4 separate regions of the Homo sapiens genome follow, and regions 2, 3 and 4 are each linked to region 1. The links are contacts of gene promoters, found by promoter capture Hi-C in blood cells and fetal thymus (Javierre and others, 2016). All regions are on one chromosome and are shown on one strand. Each heading gives the region's core, a stretch centred on a gene start or on the middle of the fragment in contact. The rest is flanking DNA. Distances are from core to core; before and after follow the strand shown. Region 1 holds the start of USP44 (ubiquitin specific peptidase 44). Region 2 overlaps NR2C1 (nuclear receptor subfamily 2 group C member 1). Region 3 overlaps FGD6 (FYVE, RhoGEF and PH domain containing 6). Region 4 overlaps FGD6 (FYVE, RhoGEF and PH domain containing 6).

The links. Contacts are between HindIII fragments. The CHiCAGO score rates a contact against its expected background, and 5 or more counts as called.
Region 2: a contact is called between a fragment that was not itself captured here and the fragment with the promoter of USP44 in region 1, in 2 of 17 cell types (naive CD8 T cells and activated CD4 T cells). The highest score is 6.7, in naive CD8 T cells.
Region 3: a contact is called between a fragment that was not itself captured here and the fragment with the promoter of USP44 in region 1, in 7 of 17 cell types (total CD8 T cells, non-activated CD4 T cells, naive CD4 T cells and 4 more). The highest score is 11.3, in total CD8 T cells.
Region 4: a contact is called between a fragment that was not itself captured here and the fragment with the promoter of USP44 in region 1, in 1 of 17 cell types (erythroblasts). The highest score is 5.0, in erythroblasts.

Annotation. Positions count from the first base shown.
Region 1 is chr12:95,549,380-95,554,070 of GRCh38, forward strand. It overlaps USP44 (ubiquitin specific peptidase 44), which reads right to left and starts at 2,097. Exons shown (of 6, transcript NM_032147.5): 1 at 1,893-2,097. The HindIII fragment of the contact is 4,508 bases long and covers 1,809-4,691 here.
Region 2 is chr12:95,065,380-95,070,036 of GRCh38, forward strand. NR2C1 (nuclear receptor subfamily 2 group C member 1) reads right to left here. Exons shown (of 14, transcript NM_003297.4): 2 at 1,952-2,012. The coding sequence starts at 2,005. Among named protein-coding and RNA genes, the nearest start is that of NR2C1, 5.9 kb to the right of the region's middle. The HindIII fragment of the contact is 9,664 bases long and covers 1-4,657 here.
Region 3 is chr12:95,107,486-95,112,304 of GRCh38, forward strand. FGD6 (FYVE, RhoGEF and PH domain containing 6) reads right to left here. Exons shown (of 21, transcript NM_018351.4): 10 at 1,018-1,076; 11 at 863-934; 12 at 78-146. Among named protein-coding and RNA genes, the nearest start is that of NR2C1, 36 kb to the left of the region's middle. The HindIII fragment of the contact is 4,130 bases long and covers 1-4,122 here.
Region 4 is chr12:95,083,833-95,088,221 of GRCh38, forward strand. It overlaps FGD6 (FYVE, RhoGEF and PH domain containing 6), which reads right to left. Exons shown (of 21, transcript NM_018351.4): 19 at 1,948-2,076; 20 at 666-814. Among named protein-coding and RNA genes, the nearest start is that of NR2C1, 12 kb to the left of the region's middle. The HindIII fragment of the contact is 2,737 bases long and covers 1-2,677 here.

The DNA of each region.
Region 1 (4,691 bases), core at 847-3,346:
TAGAACTGCCTAACCCGAAATTGCCCATTTAAATAATGAAGTACATACCGAAAAGGAAAAGGAGGGGAAATCTGGAAAACAGGAAAGTCAAGGCTAAGGTACCTGAAAATTAACCCATTAATATTTATTGGATTCTTTGTGTTCAACTCTGAGCCAGATTGTTGTTTTTAACTGAACCTATACTCAATGACAAAGCAGTTCTACTTTGGCCACCCTGTGGAGTGTACTGAAAATTTAAAAACTCTCCAAGGAGAGCTTAAAAAGAAGACAAACATGCAAAGTTAACAATACATCAATGCAGTGCAAAATCTTGCAATATGTAAGACAAGGTATAAAATTGTTCCTATCTTTTCATCATCAGTTTTATTCTGGGGAGTATGTTTCAGTGGTATGACCTGAATAAAGAAATGAGTGCACAAAGGTATTCACAGCATATTATCCAAACACCGTAAAAGGCAAGAAGGAGCGGCACAGGATTCTAACTAACAGGAAATGGCTAATTAAGGTCTGACATAGAGGCCGGGCGCAGTGGCTCACGCCTGTAATCACAGCACTTTGGGAGGCCAAGGCGGGTGGATCACCTGAGGTCAGGAGTTCGAGAGCAGCCTGGCCAACATAGTGAAACCCTGTCTCTACTAAAAATACAAAAATTATCCGGGCCTGGTGGCGGGCACCTGTAATCCCAGCTACTCGGTAGGCTGAGACAGGACAATCGCTTGAACCCAGGAGGCGGAGGTTGTGGTGAGCCTAGATCCACAATTGCACTCAAGCCTGGGCAGCAACAAGAGCGAAACTCCGTCTCAGAAAAAAAAAAAAAAAAAAAAAATCTGATATAACACAGGAAGTTCTTATGTTAACAAAATAGATACAAAATAGCAACAATGTCTAATCAATTCATGTTTGAAAAAAATACCAAATATGTACATTAAGGTTACAACTGCATAAAATGTAGTCATGCAAATAAAGATTAAAGGGATGAATTTGCATAGTTTAATACTCATTTTGTTCTTTTTTCTATATATTTAAGTGCATAATAATTCTGATTCAATAATGACCCCAGTGCACTTCTCCCACTCAAAACATCTAACCTCTATGTTGTACTTTTGCCCACCACCTGAATTTCTCAAATGCATTAAAAGCATTACATGAGGGCATCTCTTAAGATGAAATATTTAAAATTTAAGTATTTCTGGCATGCAATATGGTTTTTCCTGTAATTCCTTGAAAGCAAAATATTAATAATAGAAAAATCAAAACTCTTGCTTTCCTATTATAATGCCATAAAACCATTCTGGAAGGTCGTTTGGGAGATAGGAAGAGTCTTAGTTGCCTCCCTCTGATCTAGTAATTGGGCGGGGTCTTTTAAGGACTAAAATGATGTGAATAAATGAAGAGAAAAAGTGAAATGGGAAGAAAAGCAAAGGCAAGCTGTGTAAGGCATAGGTGGAGAGTGCTGAATAGTGTCTTCAATAAAATGCCTTAATACAATGATGTAAGCTAGGAAGAGGTGCGGAGTGGGAAGGGAAGAGGCTGGAGACAAATTCTCATTACTAGTGTTAGTAATTAAAGAGCAGATGTTTGTAGTTTAGCTTTTTCTTCATACTTATTACTACTTATTCAACTTTGAAATTTCCTCAGCTACCATTTTATTCATGATCTTCACTATCTAGGCCTAAATTATAGCATGCTCTAGCTCATTTCCTGAGCTCCAGAACCTCTCTATTGCAATTTTATTTTTACATAGCAATCATAGTCATTCTTCTCCTTAAATTTTCCTATTTGTTTTTTAACCCGTCTCATCGAATCTAAGCTTTTTACTGTAACATTAAAAAAAAGAAAAGAAAAAAGCCTCCTTCCCTGCCCACCTTCATCAATGATGTCCCCAAACTTACCTATTAAAACCTCAAAATCAGTCTTTCCCCAGGTCGGCCTTTGGATAACTCAGAGGTCAGTCCCTGCAGGATCGCCCAGTTTCCATCAGGGCAAATGCTGATCTCCTAAGTGAAAAGTCCTGGCGGCTGCCTCCAGTGCCCCCCTGCAAATCATTACAAATCAACCTCTTTCAGGTTTGGCTTAAACTCTCACCTCCTGGAAACTGCTTTCCTGAAGTCACAAACCGGGCGTGCAGATCCCCATCCCCCACCCCCAGCAGTGCATTATTATGCAGTCACTGCTTTTGTTCCGAGTTCTGAGCCTGCTTCTATTTGCATCGTAACCTCTTTGGGGGCCGGGACTGTGCACTTGCTCCCTTTCTATACCTCTCCACAGTTCCTAGTACCGGCCAAAAACACTGCTGAAATGCCTAATGAATCAACCAGAAGTTCCTTAGCATAATATAGGAGCGTGGAAGTGATGTTTAGGGGGGCTTCCCTTGCTTCCCTGATCCCCAGATGGAGAGAAATGGCAATTTGCCCTTCCAAGGTAAGCAGTTTCCTAAACCAGATAAAATTTTAACGATTCTGAAACCTAATGGATGTGTAACTACTCAATTCTGAGTTACTACACAAACAGTTTTGCCCTTTGTATCCTGAGAGAAAAGTACGAATGAATTAAAAGAAGACAAAACATTGTAAATTTCATAAACCTCAGAGTGGCTTTTTATGCTTTATGTCGATTTTTAGAATTTCCTAGTCCAGTCTTTCATGAATCGAAGAATATTTCAGGAATCATAATTGCAGACTAAAGAATTTATGAGCTTGTGAAATTTTAGGAATCACTTTTAAGACTTTTCAGAGTTTTACAGACAATGCTCTTACCTAATAACTAATATTCGCTTAACATTTTTTTCAACACCTAAATGCCTGGCACCATGCTAAGCATTGAGATATTCATAGCATTCATTTCAATGGTTATGAGGAGATGAAGGATTGAGCAGAGGAAGTGGGTAAAGAAACGCTAAATAACTCAGCCATAAACTTTTGATTAAGGTGTAGCAACACACTTCAGTTGAACTTTTTAAATGAGAGGAACCCAAACGACCTTAAATTTCTGGCAAATATGAAAGAAAGGAGTTGAGAAAAAAGGAGTATGGAAAAAAGAGCAGCAGATGTAAGCTATGGCCTTAGTGGAGGAAAGTGAGTAGAAGGGGCTTTAGAATTCGCCTTTTTTCTTTAATTCTAAGAATGAGGTTGGTAGCAGGTAAGGAAGGTAAATGCCAGCTGAGTAGATGGTACCAAAGTTGATTTGTTTTTAAAAGACCATTGTTTATTTGGTGGTCTGTCAGGGAAACTTGTACCTTGCAGGTGAATTTCCAACATAGGCCTACTGGAAACTGAAACCCTGAGCCCCAGGGTTTAGGTATAAATGGAAGCAAAATTGTGAAGTGAGTCCATTTCTCCCCCTTTTTAAACATAAACATCCACTCCACCTCCACCCTATACTCAGTTTTTCTTTTCTTTTCTTTTCTTTTTTTTTTTTTTTTTGAGACAGAGTCTCGCTCTGTCACCCAGGTTGGAGTGCCGTGGCGTGATCTCGGCTCACTGCAACCTCCGCCTCCCGGGTTCAAGCAGTTCCCCTGCCTCAGCCTCCTGAGTACCTGGGATTACAGGTATGCACCACCACGCCTGGTTAATTTTTGTATTTTTAGTAGAGACGGGGTTTCACCATGTTGGTCAGGCTGGTCTCCAACTCCTGACCTCGTGATCTGCCCGCCTCGGCCTCCCCAGGTGCTGGGATTACAGGCGTGAGCCACCACGCCTGGCCCACTCTATACTCACTTTTACAGGGATCCTCAGGATGCTGTGTCCAGGGCTTTACTGCAGTCTGTCTCTCTTCCTTCCCATCAAAACTCTTCCCATTTTGTTCAGGACAGGTACACCAACCTTTCATTCTCTCTTTTTATTTATTTTTAAAATGGAGACAGGGTTTTGTCACCAGGCTGGAGTGCAGTAGCGTGATCATGGCTCACTGCAGCCTTGACCTCTCAGGCTCAAGCAATCTTCCCACCTCAGCTTCCTGTGTAACTGGGACCACAGGCATGCGACACAACTTCTGCTAATTGATTTTTTGTAGAGATGTGGGGGTGGAGGGGGGTTCTCCCTATGCTACCCAGGCTGGTCTCAAACTCCTGGCCTCAAGCAATCCTTGTGCCCCGGCCTCCCAAAGTGCTGGGGTTACGAGCATGAGCCACCATGCCTGGCCCCAACCTGTCATTATCTAAGGAGCTCAGTTATGAAGTAAAGTTATCTACTTTGTATTATTAGTGTTTAGTATTTTTTTTTCCATTTCTCTCTCAGACTGTTCTACCTCCTGTAGACACCCAGAGTTTGGAATTTCTAAAATGACATTTTAAACATTGTGACAGATCAGTGGGATAGATATTTTGCTAAGCCAAGGTACTTCCTTTCCAAGGATAAGCTATGGGAGGTGATGACAGCAGAATACACACACACACACACACACACAATACACGCAGACACACATATATATACTCATATGCACATATATAATTAGAACTCATTTAGCTATAATAACAATTTGTCCATCTAGTTATTTGCAATCCTTTCAGGATTTTTAAAATTTCTATCTCATTTGTAGAGTTTGGAAAATAGTATCTGTCCTATCTTCTTCACAATAATGTTTTAAGGACCAAATGAGGTTTTGTCCATGGAACCTGCCTAAACTGTAAGGAGAAAAGTCAGTGTGTTTATCATTATTTCTCTCTTAGGTTTACTATTACCCTGTAAAGTTCT
Region 2 (4,657 bases), core at 1,278-3,777, 480 kb before region 1:
CTGCATGTGAGTTAGAAATTCAAAGAGAAATTTTAAAAATAGTTGATTCATTTAAAAATTAACAACCCATTAAATGTTAACATAATTTTTTTAAATTTATTTTTAATTTTCGTGGGTACATAGGTGTGTATTATCTTTGGGGTACGTGAGATGTTTTGATACAGGCAGGCAATACATAATAATCACATGGAAAACAGGGCATCCATCCCCTCAAGCATTTATCCTGTATGCTATAAACAATCCAATTATACTCTTTTAGTTATTTTAAAATGCATAATTAAATTATTATTGACTGGGCGCAGGGGCTCACACCTGTAATCCCAGCACTTTGGGAGGCTGAGGTGGGCGGATCATGAGGTCAGGAGTTTGAGACCAGCCTGAGCAACAAGCTGAAACCCCATCTCTATTAAAAATACAAAATTTAGCTGGGCGTGGTGGCAGGCACCTGTAATCCCAGCTACTCAGGAGGCTGAGGCAGGAGAATCCATTGAACCAGGGAGGCGGAGGTTGCAGTGAGCCAAGACAGCGCCACTACACTCCAGCCTGGACAACAGAGCGAGACTTTGTCTCAAAAAAAAAAAAAAAAATTATTGACTATAGTCCCTCTGTTGTGCTATCAAATACTAGGTCTAATTCATTCATCCTATTTTTTTGTACCCATTATAACCTATTTCTTAATGACTAAAAAGTTTATTTTCCAAACAAACAAAAATGTAGTGCAGAGAGTGGCTTTGTTTTACATTTCTACAAATTGCTTTAATATCTAGTTTAACAGAAGTTGGAATCTCATATCTGTTTCTTTATTTAATCTGTTAGACTATGTTGTTTTGGTTATAACAAGGCTGGGCACAGCACCTCACGCCTGTAATCCCAGCGCTTTGGAAGGCCAAGGCCAGTGAACTGCTTGAGCCCAGGAGCTCCAGACCAGCCTGGGCAACATGACAAAACCCTGTTGCTACAAAATATATAAAACATCAGCCAGGCACGTGAGCACAAAAAATGGCCACAAAAAATCAGCCGGAAACCTATTTCTTCACCATATATATACATATACATACATACATATATGTATATATGTTAAAGAAAATTCAGCTTCGTATTTATTGGTTGAAAAGGGGAAGGATATTTTAATACCCTTTTCAAACTGTGAAAGTTGTTCGACACTACATCAACTCAACAAGTGGCAGCTTTTCAAAGGTTAGCAGCAATGTAGAGTCATAAACTATATTAAAATCTGTTGGTCTATCCTGCAATTTAAATGGATCCTTCACTCATGCATAATTTTGTAACATTATACACTGGTCATCCGGAAAGCAATGATTCATTGAGTTATGTACACCTTATAAATGCTGACACATTTCATCATATAGTATCATCACATGTCACACAGTCTGTAGAAAATTCCATTGTATACCTGGGAGAGAACAATACTGAAAAGGCAAATAACATTTCAGTATTATTATAAAAATGGTCTTCACCTGGTTGATTCTCTGAAGTGTCCCCAGATAATACTTTGAGAACTTCCAAATTATGTGGTATCTCTTACTAAGTAATAGGACACAACCATTTAAAAAAATGAAGATGTCAGTATTGATGCTGAACTCCTACTGATCCCACCAAAACTAGGCTCAGATTGTACCCTCTAAAAAGAATTCCCTCAAAAGCATTCCTACTCACTCTACAGCTCTTTAATTTCTTTCCTTCCTTCCTTCCCTTCATTCCTTTCAATTTTCTTCTGTGCTCCCATTGCACCTGATACAATGACCTGTCACAGAACTTACCACATTCTACTATGAATTGTCTGATTATTCAACTATCTCTCAGTAGCTTGAAAAGCTATCTTAAGTTAGGGAATATCTTTTATTTCTGGAACTCCAGAACCTGGTATATGCATTTAGTAGGAATTAGAAAAGTTTGGTGGGCCAGTGCATCAACCGTAAACTAGACATACCTCTCCCATCTGTTGTTCAATAATTTGATGTGCAATTTCTTCTATGGTTGCCATGATCTACCTGCCAAAAATAAAAAGATGTTTTATAATTAAACTCACAAAACACTCTTATTAAATAATTTACAAATAAAACTATATGATATTTAAGATTTGCTTCAAAATAATCTAGTTAAGGTGGGAGGGTTGGCTTTTTCTGAAGTTTCTTTTTTCCATTCATGGGTTGCCTTTTCCATGTGTCTTTTTTATTTTTTTTTTTTTTAAAACAAGGCCCACCCAGGCTGGAGTGTAGGGGGCACCATCACGGCTCACTGCAGTCTCAACCTCCTGGGCTCAAGTGATCCTCCCACCTCAGCCTCCTGAGTAGCTGGAACTACAGGTATACACCACCACACCTGGCTAATTTTTTATTTTTTGTACAGATGGGGTCTCACTGTGTTGCCCAGGCTGGCCTCAAACTCCTGGGCTCAAGCAATCTTCCTGTCTCGACCTCCCAAGTGTTGGTATTGGAATTATCAGCATAAGCCACCATGCCCACCCCTCCATGTATCTTTTTTTTTTTTTTTTTTTTGAGATGGAGTCTTGCTCTGTCACCCAGGTTGGAGTGCAGTGGCATGATCTTGGCTCACTGCAAGCTCCACTTCCTGGGTTCATGCCATTCTCCTGCCTCAGCCTCCCAAGTAGCTGGGACTAGGCACCTGCCACCACGCCAGCTAATTTTTTTGTATTTTTAGTAGAGACAGGGTTTCACTGTGTTAGCCAGGATGGCCTTGATCTCCTGACCTCGTGATCTGCCTGCCTCGGCCTCCCAAAGTGCTGGGATTACAGGCGTGAGCCACTGCACCCGGCCCCAGCCCTCCATGTATCTTTATATGTTTATACGGTCTTCCCTCTGAGTGTCTGTGTCCTCTTCATAGAAGGACATCAGTTATTTTGGATTACGGTACACTCTAATGAACTAATTTTAACTCAATTATCTCTTTTAAGGCCTTATCTCCAATATACTCAATTCTGAGGTACTGGTGGTCAGGACATCACCATAGGAATTTGGGATTCATATGATTTTGTGGGAGAACCGAATTCAGCCCATAACACTCAGGCATAAACCCAATAAGGAACATGCAAGATCTAGGTAGGCAAATAAAACTTTAAAATGCTGCCTAAAGACAAGAAAATCTACACTTGGACCGGCCCCGGTGGCTCACATCTGTATTCCTAGCACTATGGGAGGCCAAGGTGGGCTGATTACCGGAGATCAGGAGTTTGAGACTAGCCTGGCCAACATGGTGAAACGCCATCTCTACTAAAAATACAAAATTAGCCAGGTGTGGTGGTACATGCCTGTAATCCCAGCTACTCAGGAGGCTGAGGCAGTAGAATTACTTGAACCTGGGAGGCGGAGGTTGCGGTGAGCCGAGATTGCACCATTGCACTCCAGTCTGGGCCACAAGAGTGAAATTCTGTCTCATAAAAAAAAAAAAAAAAATTAGCCAGGCATGGTGGCGGGTGCCCGTAATCCCAGCTACTCAGGAGACTGAGGCAGAAGAATCCCATAAACTTGGAAGGCAGAGGCTGTGGTGAGCCAAGATCGTGCCACTGCACTCCAGCCTGGGTGACAGAGAGAGACTCTGTCTCAAAAGAAAAAAAAAGAAAAAGAAAAACTACATCTTAAAAGGACACATAAGAAAGAAAATGGATCCAATAAGTACCTCCAAGGAAAGAAACTGCAAGTTTGGAAACAGGAATGGAAGGGAGACTTATTTTTCATTGAATAAGTGTTTGATGCTTTTAAATTTTGCTTAAATACAAGGATTACCACAAAAATTAAAGTAATAAACAAATAAGAAATCTCTTCCAGAAATCCTAAAATCAACACCAGTGTATTGGTGCATTAGACTCAAAGAAGTCACCTCCTAATGAAAACTTAGGGAGATAAACTATTTGTTTATCTGAATGAATTCCAGGGACTCATTAGATCAATATATAGTCATGTACTGCACAATGTTTTAGTCAATGAATGAGACTGCATATACAATAGCGGTACCACAAGTTTACACCCATAACACTGTATTTTTACTACACCTCTTCCACGTTTAGATTTGTTACTTACATAAATACTACTGTGTTAAAACTGCCTACAGTACTCACTAAAGTAACATGCTGTGTGGGTTTGTAAATTAAGAGCAACAGGCTATGCTGTATAGCCTATGTGTATGGTAAGTTATACCATTTAGTTTTGTGTAAGTATGCTCTATGATGTTCATCTGTGATAAAATCACTTAGGGATGCTTTTCTCAGAACACATCCCCATAACATATGACTATATTTTCCAAGACTAAATTTAACTCCGAAGATAAGGCAACACACACATTCCTTTTTTTCCCCCATAATTTTGTGACTGGATGACTGAAAAAAAATGCTTTTAAACATTAATCCATCCATCCATGCATCTATGCATCCATGCATGCATCCATCCATCCATCCAACACTCACTGCTGCTACTGCATGGGGATTCTCAACCTTATAAAAAAAAAGCAACTCTCCCTTTCCCTAACTACACCTTTCAGTTGATTGAGTCCCTGATGTCTTCCAGGATCTATGCCTGACCCTGGGATAGGATAATAAAGATGGTCTCTACCCTGAAGAGATGAGAAAGAAGTAGGTAAGTAATGGTGTAAGTTAAGGCTGCTCTGATAGCAGTGTCTGTTT
Region 3 (4,819 bases), core at 808-3,307, 440 kb before region 1:
TACCATGTATAAACGTCTCCTTTCCTTAAGCAACTATCCCTACCTCGGCCACATCAGAACTACACAAGTCCTCTTACCAGGAAAAACATTCGAGGTTGCATCACTTTCCGAGACAGCTTCATCAGAATTCCTTCTTTGAGAAAAACCTGATTCACCCAAACAAACACCCATTTAGTCCTACCATCACAACACAACGACAATATAATTTCCTTTTCAACTTTCTTCCCTGAGAATTTTTTTCATGACAGACTGGGGAGCCACAGTTTCCTTGAGATTTTTTACAGTCATAGTTAATTTTAAACCCTTAAATCATTTAGGAATCGGACAAGCAAGCAGGGTTGGATAATTCCAATATTGGCCCCTGGGATACTGTATGGAGGCACATGTAATTGACTGAGCGTGTACTTGATCCTGAAGCATACCCAACATCCTGACAACCGCATTTTGTAATTTTCCCGAATTAATTCCCTAGGCCACTTTTGTGCTATATGAGGAGGATCAAAATACCAATCTCCCCCCTCCCTTCATAATCCTCTCTTACATTAAAGATGTTAAATGAAATTGTCTTCAAAACTGTGTGAGGTCGCTGGCATCACACAAGAAAACGATCCCATTAAATCAGATACTCTGTGGGGTCCCTTGCCGCTCCCCTAATTGAACTGGACTTACTTCATAAATGGGCTTATTCCTAATTGAATTGTCACAGTGACTTACATCATGAATGTTTTGAACGGATAAAGTGATCAAAATTGAATCAATGAAGAGTAACAAAAACAACCTATTTTTATAAAATGATAAACAGATACAGATGGTACCTAAATGCATCGTATTAAGTTTGCGAAAAGCAATGTAAAATGCTTACCCGACCAGGCTGCACAATTTCATGGTGTCCATTTAAGCTGTACTGAATTTGCATAAGTTTCTGAAAGTTGTCCTACAGAAAGACAATGGAAAGCATATGAAGGCCTGGGCTTTCAGGTTCAAGACCACACCAGCCACTGACAACAAGACACTTACTCCTTGCTTCATGGTGTCATTGGCGTGGTTGGCTACCTCTATAACAACAGCAAGGGCATCTGAAATAGGCAGGAACAAAACGTGCATTTAGTAATTACAATGGAAACAAATAGTTTGCAACATTAAGCAATTCCAGGGGACAAGATAGCTAGTTTATAGCAACCAACCTCTGGAGGAGCTTATTGACTGTGAGTAGGCAGAAATATAAGGTTCAATGAAGGCAAAACCAAACCAAACCAAACAACACCACCACCACCAAAAACCTGGCCAAAACAATATATAGGGAAACAATGAGCCAAAAGAAGACTCTAAAGAGACACTGTAGACCATGTTTACTAACAGTATGAATGTCAGGGTTGTTTTGTGCTGTGATTTGATTATCCTATTCAAGTTTACAAAGATAAGGATGGGATTTCACCTGGAAGATAAGGACCAGCCCAGTATAAACTGTCTTGGGAGAAAAGGATCGTGAGGAAAAAGGATCTTGTTATAGGAAATAAAAACTACAAGAAATGACTAAGATCAGGTCTCAGTCTCTTAGTCTGATTCCAAGAGGCATGAATTAGAAATGGGGGAAATGCCACATGGAAGCATCCCAGATCTTAGGAATTTGCAAGTGTCATTTTGTGAGCTGGGTTATTAGCTTCATGGGCCTATCTGTGTTTTATTCTTTTTATTAACCCTTTGCCTTTAGCAAAGTGTTTTTCCATACTCCAGCCTTGTCATCTTTATAACTAGGTCTAAAGGAAAAAGTCTGCATTTTCTCAGCTTTGGGGCTGCAGTTATTCTCAACCCAAGGCCATAGTGCTCCCTTAGGGACATGTGAACCTGTGTAAAGACAATTTTTGCTTGTCACAATGACCAGGAAGATCCACTGGCCTTTGGTGGGTAGGAGGCAGGGATGCCAAACTCCATGCAATACTCCTTAGAAACCCACACAAAGATTATTCAGAACAATATGACAGTAGCATTCCCACTGAGAAAAACTGGTAGAGTGTTAGAGAGGGAAGCATCTCCTCCTGAGGCTGCTGTGGCAGTGACAGTGGTCATCAAAAAAAGGACTATTAAAAAAAAGAGTGGCTGGGCGCGGTGGCTCACGCCTGTAATCCGAACACTTTGGAAGGCTGAGGTGGGCGGATCATTTGAGCTCAGGAGATCGAGACCAGCCTCAGCAATAAGGTAAAACCTTGTTTCCACAAAAAATCCAAAAATTAGCTGGGTGTCGTGGCTCATGTCTGCAGTCCAGCAATTTGGGGCGCTCAGGTGGGAGGATCATTTGAGCCCAGGAGGTCAAGGCTGCAGTGAGCCCAGATCACACCACTGCATTCCAGCCTAGGTGACAGAATGAGGCCCTGTCTCAACAAAACAAAACGAAACAAAAACAACAACAGTAAATCAATTTCTGAAAAGGGGTTGAGGTGTTTTGGTCCAGTTATTGTAATCTATCAAAGGACTGTCTTCCTGGTACCAGCCGTGGAGGCTTCTGTATTCTTTTTTTTTTTCTTGCTCTGTCACCCAGGTTGGAGTGCAGTGGCGCGATCTTGGCTCACTGCAAGCTCCACCTCCCGGGTTCACACCATTCTCCTGCCTCAGCCTCCCAAGTAGCTGGGACTACAGGCACCTGCCACCACGTCCAGCTAATTTTTTGTATTTTTAGTAGAGACGGGGTTTCACCGTGTTAGCCAGGATGGTCTTGATCTCCTGACCTCGTGATCCGCCCGCCTCAGCCTCCCAAAGTGCTGGGATTACAGGTGTGAGCCACCACACCCGGCCTGTATTCTTTCCACATGTATCATCATCACTATTATTAAAGGAAAGCAGGTTTTTCCTTATATAGAGACCCTGACTATATATCAGAATTTTTTTTTTTTTTTGAGACAGTCTTGCTCTGTCTCCCAGGCTGAAGTGCAGTGGCATGATCTTGGCTTACTCAACCTCCGCCTCCCAGATTCAAGCAATTCTCCTGCCTCAGTCTCCTGCATAGCTGACATTACAGGTGCACACCAGTATGCCCAGCTAATTTTTGTATTTTTAGTAGAGACGGGGTTTCGCCATGTTGGCAGGGCTGGTCTCAAACTCCTGACCTCAGGTGATCCACCCGCCGCAGCCTCCCAAAGTGCTGGGATTACAGGTGTGAGCCACGGTACTCAGCCATGTATCAGAATTTACGGTGCCTGGTACCCTTTTCACAGCAGGTTCAAGAGGTTACCGTGGACACATTTCCTGCTTTCTGGCCTGCTGGAATTCCCGGTGGACAGGGGAGAGATGCCTTAAGATTTAATGGATGACAAAGCTGCTGCTGCTACTTGGTCACCTGGTCTCCCAAGCTCTACCTTCCCTACTCCATGCTGTGATTCTACTTTCCCCACGTCATCCCGTTAAGAGGCCCTGATGCCTCTATTCCTTTAACTCTTCTGCCTACCTTTCAAAGTTATTCTTGCCTCACCTTCCCTCACCCTTGAAGTCTCATCCACACTGCTCACCACTCTTTTTTTCCTGAGACAGAGTCTTGCTCTGTCGCCCAGGCTACAGTGCAGTCGCGGGATCTCGGCTTACTACAACCTCCATCTCCCAGGTTCAAGCGATTCTCATGCCTCAGCTACTGAGTACCTGGTATTACAGGCATGCACCCCCATGCCCCACTAATCTTTGTATTTTTAGTAGCAAAGGGTTTTGCCATGTTGCCCAGGCTGGTCTTGAATTCCTGGCCTCAAGTGACCCACCTGCCTCGGCCTCCCAAATTGCTGGGATTATAGGCATGAGCCACCACGCCCGGCCACTGCTCACCATATGATTGCTGTGCCTCTGGCCATACAGTGGGCCTCACTGTTCACTGGTTTTCTCATCTATGTCTTTGCTGTCACATGTAATTTCCTTTAAATAAGCTCCTTAATCTCTGACCCTGAATTTGTTTTATGTGTAAAATGGAGCTAATAACTCACTTTCATTGAAGGCAGAAGCCCAGGACCCAGGACAGATGTTTTCTTTCTATTCTATAAGTTCCATGTATAATTTGTATCCTCACGAGAGGGGCTGCCGTCGGGAATGCTCATTTTTCCTCTCACCCACTCTCCCACTCATCTCCAGTCCTACTTTTTCCTGCAAAGCTTCCCTGCCTCTTTAACCTTCACACTTTTCTCTGTCATCCAAATAATTCTGTCCTGCTCGGTGCACCCTTACTTTGAAGTCATTTGCTTTGTTCTTTATTTGATGGATATTATAAACTTCTTCATCAACTAGATATGATCACTGAAGACAGGAAACTTGTCAGATCCCCAACCACAAGCTTTTCCTTTAAAAAAAACCGCCTTTAAAAGCATAATGTACACAAACAGAAGATGTTAAGAGAAGTAAAATGATTAAAAGAATATATAAGAATCTCTACAAAAAGGGTTAAAAATGTTCACTTTTTACTCTGCAAATGTAAAGGATATACAAGAATGTGATCAGGCCAGGTGTGGTGGCTCATGCCTGTAATCCCAGCACTTTGGGAGACTGAGGCAGGTGGATCGCTTGAGCTCAGGAGTTCGAGACCAGCCTGGGCAAGATAGTGAAACCCTGTCTCTACAAAAAATATAAAAATTAGCAGGGTGTGATGGTATGTGCCTGTAATCCCAACTACTTGGAGGGCTGAGGCAAGAGAATTACTTGAGCCCAGGAGGTTGAGGCTGCAGTGAGCCGTGTTCATGCCACTGCACTCCAGCCTGGGTGACAAAGTAAGACTCTGTCTCAAAAAATTAAAAAAAAAAAATGTGATCAAAATTCATAAAATTAATGGACTTGCTTAACATGTTTCTGCAGT
Region 4 (4,389 bases), core at 59-2,558, 470 kb before region 1:
CCAAGGTAAAAATCAAATGAGAGATGATGAACTATTTTGTTCAAAAGAGACCTAATTTCACAGAGGTAGATACGCATCTCTATGTTAAGCAAACTGATAACATCTAAGTAAAGATTCTTGCTGGAATTCTGAGGAGACTGTTTCAGCCTTTGCCATCTAAACTGATAGCCATTTCCTTCTACTCAGTCACTGGAACAGCATGGGAGTCTCTTAATGTGTTTGACCTTTTCCCCAAAGAAGTTAGCGAGCAGCTGTTTAAACTCCTGCTGTTCCATGGCACAAATGAATCGCTGGATTGCCAAAGTCCTGGAATGTTTCAAGGGAAGATTCTTACCCTCATAGAAGGAGAGGTCAAATGCCTTAGCTTTCCTTCCTTTCAGCAGAGCAGCATCACGCTGCTTCCTCTGAGATCACGTGTAGATAAAATACTTTGTATAGGACTACCTATTTTCTTTTCCCCTCTGCCTCCTGAAAATATTCCAGATACCCCTGCCTTGTCTTTAAAACAATTCTGAAGAGTTTAAATAATACGTTAAATCTTTCTAATTAAAATCTCTGATGTAAATTTTGAGTTGTCCCCATGCCTTAAAGTAGGTCATTTTACAAGCAACCATTAAAAAACTGAAATCTCATGAATAAAAGAAAAATATGGCCAGATTACTTACTTCTGAGCCGAATGAGCATCCTCTGCTTTGAATACATAAAATAACATGTTTTTGTGCAGTAACTGAAATACTTTAGACTCGGAATTCTCATCTTTAACTTGAATAACAGTGAATCCTAATAAAGGCTGACTCTCCAAAGCGGCCACGTCCTAATTTAAAAACATACAAATGGAGAAAAGTTTTTAGATTGAGACAAAATTCAGATTTGAAAACTCTTGATCTACATAGCTCTAATTTAATTTCAATTATTCACATATAAGGTAATGATAATTCTAACAACTTACTCACTTCTCATTTATTCAATAATATTCATTGAGCCACTCCCTCCCTAGGTACCCTATATGCCAGGCACTGTGGCACACAATTTCTGGCATGTTCACATCTACTGAATTTCACAACATCCTCACTAAACCAAGGAAGGCACGTGATTATATTACTTTCATTTTATGGATGCAGAAAACAGCTCAGAAAGGTAAGCTATTCACCTGGATCTCACTAAGGAAAAGTGTGGACCCTACAGCAGTGTTTTCATAGGATGGTGGAACACAGGGTGATCAGGTAGGAGAAAAGGACAGAATTAGAGTAAACTGCTAGAATTGTTTATAATCCAAAAAAGCCTATCTTATCTATGCTGCTGTCAGATCAATGCAATCTAACGATGACAGTAAAGGGAGTATCACTCAAGAGAGCTTGGCAGAAAGAAACACAGCTCTGCCTTTTTTTTTTTTTTTTTTTTTGAGACAGAGTCTCTCTGTTGCCCAGGCTGGAGTGCAGTGGCACGATCTCAGCTCACTGCAACCTCTGCCTCCCGGGTTCAAGCAATTCTCCTGCTTCACCCTCCCAAGTGTCTGGGATTACAGGCACTCCACTAATATTTGTATTCTTAGTAGAGACGGGGTTTCGCCATGTTGGCCAGGCTAGTCTCGAACTCCTGACCTCAGGTGATCCACCCCCACTCAGCCTCCCAAAGTGCTGGGATTACAGGTGTGAGCCAGTGCACCTGGGGGCAGCTCTGCCTTTAGTAAAGTAATTAGTAGTCACACGACACACACAAAAATTGCATTTTAATAATATGGAAAATTCCTAACACATTTGAGAAAGAGCTCTCCAGGTACAAAGCAAGAACACTGTTCACATTAAAAATAACAGCAACAACACCTCCCCCATCCAAAAGCAAAGCAAAAAATCTTATGTAAAATAAATGGATTTTTAAAATATTGTAATTACTTGCAGTTGGCATTACAAAACCCCAAATTACTCATCTTTAGATTTCAGATCTTACCTCACTTGCAGCATATGTATATAGTACTTTATTTTTTATGACAAACCAAAAGTGTTTCCAGGGTTTTTTATTGCCCTTTGATCTGTACAAGTAGCCACTCATAGAAGAATCCTCTGTGTTTGCTGATACCTAGATAAGAAACCCCATACAAAGTTTAATGGTTTTCAGACAAATTATAACAGCAAAATTATTTGCAACCAATAGGTGCTGAAAGCAATAACTGTAATGATAGAATGTTTCAGAATGAAATATATTTTCAAAGTGCTACTATACAAATTGAACTCTGCTATTAACATGAGCACAAAAAAGAAGACAACCATGTTAGAGGCAATTATAGAATTTTACTTGGTTTAACTGTGCCTGCACGTGTTTGCGTATGTTTCTTGGTGGGTTCATCTGTGTTTTCTGGGTTGGCAGGTGAAGAAAAATAGTTCCAGAAGACTAAAATGCTTTTCTAAAAGCTGGATTTGGGGACTTGGGGATTTGTTTTTTATTGCTCTTATTTTGGGGCATCAGGGAAAATTATTTGAACCTTTAATTCTGTTCCTAAAAAACTTTTTGGACTTCTAAAAACCATACAAACAGAATAATAAACAGAAAATTCTACTATTAAGGAAGCTCATTTTAAGAATCAATCTTTGCTTCCCAAATTATAGTAAGAAAGAAAAGAGGCTAATTTTTACTTCATAAAAAGTTGAAAATGTTTTCATCTCTATGCAAAAAGACAGTAAGCTTTTACTGATTGATTTTTTTTTTCTTTTTTTTTTTTTTTTTTTTTGAGACTGAGTCTTGCTCTGTCACCCAGGCTGGAGTGCAGTGGCCCGATCTCAGCTCACTGCAAGCTCCACCTCCCAGGTTCACGCCATTCTCCTGCCTCAGCCTCCCGAGTAGCTGGGACTACAGGCGCCTGCCACCACGTCCGGCTATTTTTTTTTTTTGTATATTTTTAGTAGAGATGGGGTTTCATCATGTTAGCCAGGATGGTCTCCATCTCCCGACCTTGTGATCCACCCGCCTTGGCCTCCCAAAGTGCTGGGATTACAGGCGTGAGCCACCACACCGGCCTTTTTTTTTTTTTTTTTTTTTTTAAGACAGTCTCACTCTGTCACCCAGGCTGGAGTGCAGTGGCACAATCTCAGCTCGCTGCAACCTCTGCCTCTTGGGTCCAAGCACTTCTCGTGCCCCAGCCTCCCGAGTAGCTGGGATTACAGGCGTGCACCACCATGTCCAGCTAATTTTTGTATTTTTAGTCGAGACAGGGTTTCGCCATGTTGGCCAGGTTGGTGTTGATTTGCCTGCCTTGGCCTCCCAAAGTGCTGGGATTACAGGTATGAGCTATCGTGCCTGGCCTATTGACTCTAATAATGGTTATTAAAAGCTGTGTTCTTAAAAATGTAGGAGTAGATAAATAACAAAATGTTTAGGATCTACCTTAGTAATGGTATGGCAGGCACACGCTTAAGGTGGCTTCCCATGACCCTTGCTGTAGAGAGTCACACTGCTGTACATTCTCCTCCCCCTGAGTGTGGACAGGACCTACGACTTGCTTCTAACTAAGAATTTGGTGAGGGTGATAGGATGTCACTCCCATGATCAAGCTACCTTATATATGGCCCTGTCTTGTTAGGAGACACTCTAGAAACTTTCTTCCTTGCTGGCTTTGAACAAAGTAGCAATGTTGAGAGGTCCACATGGCAAGGAGCTGAGGACCTCCAGCCAAAAGCTAGTAAGAAGGCAAGGCCCCCAGTCTTGCAAGTACAAGGAAATGAATTCCCAGATGAGCCTCTAGATGAGAACTCAGTACTTGCCAAAACTTTGATTATAGCCCTGCAGAGTCCCAGCTAACCCATGCCTGGACTCTGGAGATAATAAATGTATGTTGTTTTAAGCTGCTAAGTTTGTGGTAATTTATTATGCAGAAATGGAAAACTAATACACATGCGCTCTGTGAATTTTTAAAGTGTATCTTTAATTATATTAATTTCTTATAAATTTCATGAAAATAATTATATATTGTTTAGTGGGAAATTTAAGATCTAACATTAAATTAGAAATATTTGTTAAGCAACAGTAGGTTTATATAAATACATCCTTATAAAGACTACCAAGTAATTTTTTAAAAAACTAGAATTGTTTCCTATCTCAGTGAAAAAAAAGAGGAAAAAAATCCAACTAGAATGTTTAACATTCAAATGAGATTTTGCTTAAAATATAGTTACATTGGAATCCTACTATATTCTTATCTAAGTTGTTATTAATGTTGCTCAAAATATATTACATTTCTCCTTTATACCAATTTAGGACCAGTTTAGTAGCCACACAAGAAGATCAACCATAATACTGAATAGCCATGACTAGACCTATATTTTCAAAGATAAAACTGGTGTTCACCAACTTAATCACCTAACTGATCCACAAAACATGTCTTCCAATGATTTGATT